2 separate regions of the Homo sapiens genome follow, and region 1 is linked to region 2. Evidence: promoter capture Hi-C in 16 types of primary human blood cells and fetal thymus (Javierre and others, 2016). All regions are on one chromosome and are shown on one strand. The core of a region is centred on a gene start or on the middle of the fragment in contact, and the rest is flanking DNA. Distances in the headings are between cores, read along the strand shown.

Evidence for each region. Contacts are between HindIII fragments. The CHiCAGO score rates a contact against its expected background, and 5 or more counts as called.
Region 1: a contact is called between a fragment that was not itself captured here and the fragment with the promoter of PDCD4-AS1 in region 2, in 1 of 17 cell types (naive CD8 T cells). The highest score is 5.0, in naive CD8 T cells.

What each region holds. Positions count from the first base shown.
Region 1 is chr10:104,329,365-104,332,374 of GRCh38, reverse strand. All of the region lies in intron 1 of ITPRIP (inositol 1,4,5-trisphosphate receptor interacting protein), which reads left to right. Among named protein-coding and RNA genes, the nearest start is that of ITPRIP-AS1, 7.5 kb to the right of the region's middle. RefSeq lists silencers at 630-924, 2,949-2,998 and enhancers at 885-1,530, 1,531-2,176. The HindIII fragment of the contact is 171 bases long and covers 1,646-1,816 here.
Region 2 is chr10:110,869,210-110,872,153 of GRCh38, reverse strand. PDCD4-AS1 (PDCD4 antisense RNA 1) reads left to right here and starts at 1,250. Exons shown (of 1, transcript NR_026932.1): 1 at 1,250-2,944. PDCD4 (programmed cell death 4) reads right to left here and starts at 226. Exons shown (of 12, transcript NM_014456.5): 1 at 136-226. RefSeq lists silencers at 1-33, 64-113 and an enhancer at 1,118-1,728. The HindIII fragment of the contact is 8,654 bases long and covers 542-2,944 here.

The DNA.
Region 1 (3,010 bases), core at 482-2,981, 6.5 Mb after region 2:
CATTTCGGTGGCTAAAGTCATTGCCCTAATTCTTGTATGCACCTAGCTTTTTCAGGTTTATAAATAAAAATTAGAGTATCATTAATCTGCAGAATCCACCGTTATGGATATGACATTGTTCATATAAGTAGAATGGCCTTATTAAAAAAAAATAGTGGCTTCATTTACTGAGCAAAGCCCCATTCTAGGGGTTTACACATATTTATTTCTCCTCCTCACAATGGCCCTTCAAGGTGGGTGTTATCCTAGTTTTACAGGTGAAAGAACAGACTCAGAGGGACTTGCCCCAAACGGACAACAACAGAGAAGAGATTCGAATTTAGATTTGCTCTCTCCCAGGGCCTTGGACTCTTTCTGCCACCTCAGGCGTCTGTCTGGACACTGTAGCCCAGAACACATACAGATGGCATAAAGAATCCCACAAAGTTTTAAGTGTCAATACTGAGAAAACAGCAAGCAGACCACCAACTCCAGGCCTGAGACTTCTGGTCCCTTCCTGCTGTCTCACTCTGATATTAGCAGACCTAGTGAGCTTTGGAGACTCCTTCTGCCAAGAGATTCTGTGAGTGTGGCCTGAGCTATCTGAGGGTGAAAGGAAGGAAAGGCTTTCCCTTCCAGCACTGTTTGCTTTTCTGTTTAATAGGCACAGTAACAACCAGTTCCTGATAATATTCAGAGCACTTTGCAGTCCTCTGCTGGAAGTCCCTAGGAAAAATACAAAGCCCCGCAATTATCAAATGACTCACTTCCAGGTGCATAACACAGTGGGACACTCACTGCCTGGGAAGAGGGGCTCAGCTTGGAAGCAACCCTGGGCTGCTACTGCTTTCTCTCCCTTCTAGGTCATTTCCCTGAAGCTGATGCAGGAGTCCCCCCAACTCTCGCCCCCTCCTCCTGTATCAAAGCAGCAGGGAAGGTGTTGTCATTATTTTGGCCCTGCCCGCTAGTGCAAAACCATGTGCTCATAACATACTGTTCTCATGGGAGCCGGCTTCAATAGCCTCTTAGCAGCAGCCGGGGGACCCGCCTGAAGTTTACGAACGCGTCCTTTGTTTGCTGAGACTTTGTTCCAAAGTTCCCAAGGAGGCAGGGGTGCAGCATGCCTGGGCTGGAGGGTAGGAGAGCAGGGGCTGCCTGGGTCCTACCCCTGTGTGCTGCCCCAAAATGTCCCTAATGTACCCATGCCGCTTCCTGACATTTCACCCCAACACATGCCTACCTGCCAGTGTCAAGAGAGCCCTCACTCCCTTTTTTGCAGAGAAGGCTTTCCATTCCTTTTATCTCAAATAGCCCAGGCCACACTCACAGAATCTTGGTAGAAGGAGTCTCATAAGTTCATTAGGTTTTACTCCCTGCTTCATGCCCACATTTCATCTAGATTGTCACCTACCCTTCCCTAAACAGTCCGGGTGAGGAAAGTCCATAGGTACATGTCTAATGTTTCACAGATACCAGGTCACTGAGCAGCACAGCTCGTGGCTTCATGGGAAGAGTATAGGCTTGAAAGTCAGATAGGTTTGGATTCAGATCCTGGCTCTATGATGTTGGTGAGTGGCCTCACCTCTGTGCCTCAGTTGCCTTATCTGTAAAATGGAGATAAGTGCCTGCCTCAGAGGTTTGATGTGAGAATGATACATGTAAAGCTTTATTGTGCAATGCTTAAGCCTCAATAAATGGGATGCAGTGGTTGTAATTCATTAAACCCTCCCATGGTGTGTCAGGGCCCTGAGGCTTGTCCAGTTTTTTCCTGAAAGAAGAATTACTTCTCTGCTCCTTCTCTTACTCTGTAATCCTCTGTTTATTTCTACAAGAAGCTTGAGCAAGAAGGGAGGTGTCCACGGCAAGGCAGCTGAGGGTCAGAAAACGTGTCAGGGTTCATTCCTGGGCCATTTTCTAAACGTTGGCAGTGAGTCTGCCTGCAGTTACATGAAGGCCAGTCCAGACCAAACGGGGCTGCAACCGTCTCTGTCTCCAGGGCTACGTCTGGAAGGGATTTTGCTGGAAGGGATTTTCCAAGGCACTTACACTGTTAGCACTTTGTTTTTCTGACTGCAGTGCCCCTCCCAGGAAGAAAGAATGTAGAAGTTACTTTATCCAGAGCTTTCCACTTCACTCCAGGAATTTCAAATTCCTGCTCCTGGGAGTAAAGGCAGTGAGGTTCTTTTCCCAATCCTAACTCCATTCATGTATTCAGCAAGCATTCATTATAGCAACTACCCTCTTCCAAAGCTGGGTACTCAGAACCTAATGGAAGAGCTGTCAGTGTCAATGATGCCAGATTGGAGGGAGTAAGGGAGGGTGCTGCTGACCTTCCTAGGTCTCCAAACTTCCTCCTCTTCCTCTGTGTCAGCCCCTGGGGCCTTTAGAAGAAGACAAGGAGGTGGAGGAGACAACTTAGTCATACTCCCCAGGCTTCTGGAGGAGCTGCAGGGATGTTGTTCACCCACTTCTTCCCAGAGGACTCCTTAACATGCAACCATGACGATTTAACAAATCAAAAAGGAGACATGACCGCAGCACCAGTACCAGTGCCAACAGCAGTATCATTTACCAAGCACTGCCGAGTGACTGTGAGATGGTCCACAAGGCCATAAATTGGACACTATTGCCATAGCAAGTTGTAGAGCCAAGATTCAAACCCAGGCCTTCTGATTCCAGAGTTTGACTCCTTAGCAATGGTTCTCTAAGCCTCTGCAAACTGTTAAGCTCTTCTTAGCTGATGAGCTTTGGGCTGTTTCTTTCTCGGTGACAGTAGGAGTGGAAATGAGCCTGTGTGAACTTGACACTATCAGTGGCTGCTTGCTGCCCACCTCAGTCTGACTGACGCACATATGAGTCATGGGTCCATGCATTCAGCAGGCATTATTTGGACACCTACTGGGTGCCAGCACAGCCTCGGTGGAGCACCCGCATCACACCTTATTGCTCCGTCCCTGTGACTAGAAAATGATGTCATAGTAGGGTTGTTTTGTGCAATCCGTAGAGAGTGTGACTCTGAGTAGTCATAGGT
Region 2 (2,944 bases), core at 1-2,500:
AGGCCCGGACCTGACAGGACCGCGACCCCCACGCCTCCGCCCCCGCCCCCTCCCATCTTGCGGCTGCCTCCGAGGAGGGATGGGGGAGAGGGCGCAGTCTTCCCGAGCGTGTGAGCCGCGCCTACTGGTACTGACCCCTCGGGCCCCCGCCGCTGCTCGCCCAGGTTCCTGGTCAGCCGGCCCCGACCCCGCTCTTCTGTCTCTGCCGCCGCCTCGGAGAGTCTCTGGCCCTTCTCGCTCTGTTTGTTTTTGTTTTCTTCTACCCAGTAACACGGGGGCGAGAGGGCGGCGCTTATTGGCCGAGGCCGGGTGGTCGGCTGGCCAATCGTGGCGGCGGAGCCGGAGCTGAGGAGGAAAAGGGAGAGGAGTGAAACGTGGAAAGTTGGGGAGGGGCGCGGGAGGGCGCATGCGCATGTGGCTCCTGGGACTGGCTGGAGCGGGAGTTGAGCGGGAAGTCGGGGTGGGGGTATGTTGGGAGGCGTGGCGGGATGGGAGCGTTGGGAAAAGGGCAGTGCTGGGGGATGGGGACGAGGATGAAGCTTCCTCGACCCAGCTCACCCATTCTCCTCACAGGGCGTTCTGCAAACTCGGCTGAAGCAAAGGTTTTGAGCTTCCTGATGGTCCCTGCCTCCATTTCTAGAAACTGCTTAGGCGAACACTCCAAGTGATCAGCCTGTCCGATTCCTCCTCCCTCTGGCCGCTGCTTTCTCTGTGGCTTCCAGTTTCTGGAGATCCCATGCTAAGAAGTTTCTCTCAGCGAATCCCCTCAAACCTTTGAGATGGAAATAATTCCCATTTCACAGATATAAAGCAGGCTCCAAAACTCTTTGAAGTTCCTTTGCTAATCATGACTAGCCAAGCCTCTGGCGTTCAAACGCACAAATTCCGGCCTCCAGTGCTGGGGTTCTCAGCCATGGCTACAATTTCTGTATTGAAACTTCCACCTCCCCTCGCTGTTCTCTGTGACTTTTCCTCTTGGCTGCATTGGTTTTGGCTGGTACTATCCTTACTCTTTCAAGGTCACGGTCCCCTGAGGGTGATAACCAGAACCTTAGGCTTCCTTTGTGTTCCCAGGCGGGGACTTAGCCACTGCCTCTGATCAGATTTTTCAGTTGTCTGATGGGCAGCACCGAATGATTGCTTGTGCTCTCCAGAACCCAACTGCCTCATCCCGCACAGGCCAGCGCTTTCCCTTGGCTGCCCAGTCACCCTGCCTGGGAATCATCTCTAATGCTACTATTTCTCTGCACACACACGCACACACACACACACAAACCTTCACTGGCTTCCCATTGCCTCTCTTGAGTGTCAGCGCCTCGGTCGGTCATTCAAGGCTCCGTGATGTGACTTCAAGACTTTCAGGCTGTGTCTCCACACATCTCCCCATATGCTTCCTCACCCCCTGGTAGTTCTTTATATATCACCTTGAAATGTCTCTCTTCTCATCTCCTATCTCCGCCTGATGCAATCCTTCTGTGCCTCATGGCCCTTCCTGGTAGTTTTTTATTTTGTTGTTGTTGTTGTTTTATTTAATTGAGGCAGGGGCTTGCCCTTTAGCCCAGGAGAATGCAGTGGCATGATCACAGCTCACTGCTGCCTCGACCTCCGTCAGCCTCCCTAGCTCAACGATCCTCTCACCTCAGCCTCCTGAGTAACTGGGACTACAGGCACAGCTCACTATGCCCAGCTAATTTTTGTATTTTCTGTACACACAGGGTTTCATCATGTTGTCCAGGCTGGTCTTGAACTCCTGGGCTCAAGCAATCAGCCCACCTCTGCCTCCCAAAGCGTTGAGATTACAAGCGTGAGCCACCATTCCTGGACCCTCGTAGTTTTTCTGGAGCCTCGTGATTTGATATGATCTTCCTGCCGCTGATTCCTCACAGTGTTGGCTTGCCACACCTCCAGGGGCACTGATCACATTCTACCTGGCATTATTTCATCTGAGTCCCTGTCCTAGCCCTTCTGCCCATTAGACTGTAACCTTGTTTAGGGAAAGACCTGTGTCTTACTCATCTGTGATTTTGTTGTTGTTGTTGTTTTGAGACAGGGTCTTGCCCTGTTGCCCAGGCTGGAGAGCAGTGGTGCAATCTTGGCTCACTGCAGCCTCAACCTGTTGGGGTCAAGCCATCCTCCCACCTCAGCTTTCCAAGTAGCTGAGACTACAGGCCTGTGCCACCACACCCAGCTAGTTTTTTGTATTTTTAGTAGAGATGGGGTTTTGCCATGTTGCCCAGGCTTCTCTTGAACTCCTGAGCTCAAGGGATCTGCCTGCCTCGGCCTCCCAAAGTGCTGGGATTACAGGCGTGAGCCACTGTGCCTGACCCACTCACCTGTCATTGTAGTACTTAAGATGCCTTGTTCATTTATTGTGCCTGTGCAATAAATACACCTTGATTTGAGTTTACAAAGATTCTCAGCAGTTGGTGGTCATCCTCATCTCCTGGGCGGGGGCCTCCTGGTGTGGCCAGTATCTGAATTAGTCTCATAACTCATGTTCACTTTTTAAAATCGGAGCTTCCCAGACCTCAGTTTTGTTTTGTTATTTTCCATTATCTGCAGCTGTCTCCTTTCCCCTCTCTCACCTATACTCTACTGATCAGTGACTGCTGGCTCCTTTGTTACCCATCCTTCTCTTTCTCCACATTTTTTCTCTTCTCATCCCTTTCAGTTCTGGACTGTTTCCTTCTTCCTCCCTGTCTTTCATTTAGTCATTCATTGAATGTACTTACTAAGCACATATAGCATAATCAGGCTGTGTTGGGTAGGCATCCCGAGTTCTATGAGATAAAGAAAGAATGGGATATGATTACCAATTTTAAGAAGCATCTAAAACAACCTGTTATGTTTTAGCAAATTGCCCCCAAAGGACCCATTAGGGAGGAAAACGTTCATGTCCTTTTTGCGTATCATCTCAAGCAGTACCCATGATGGCTGGGATCCC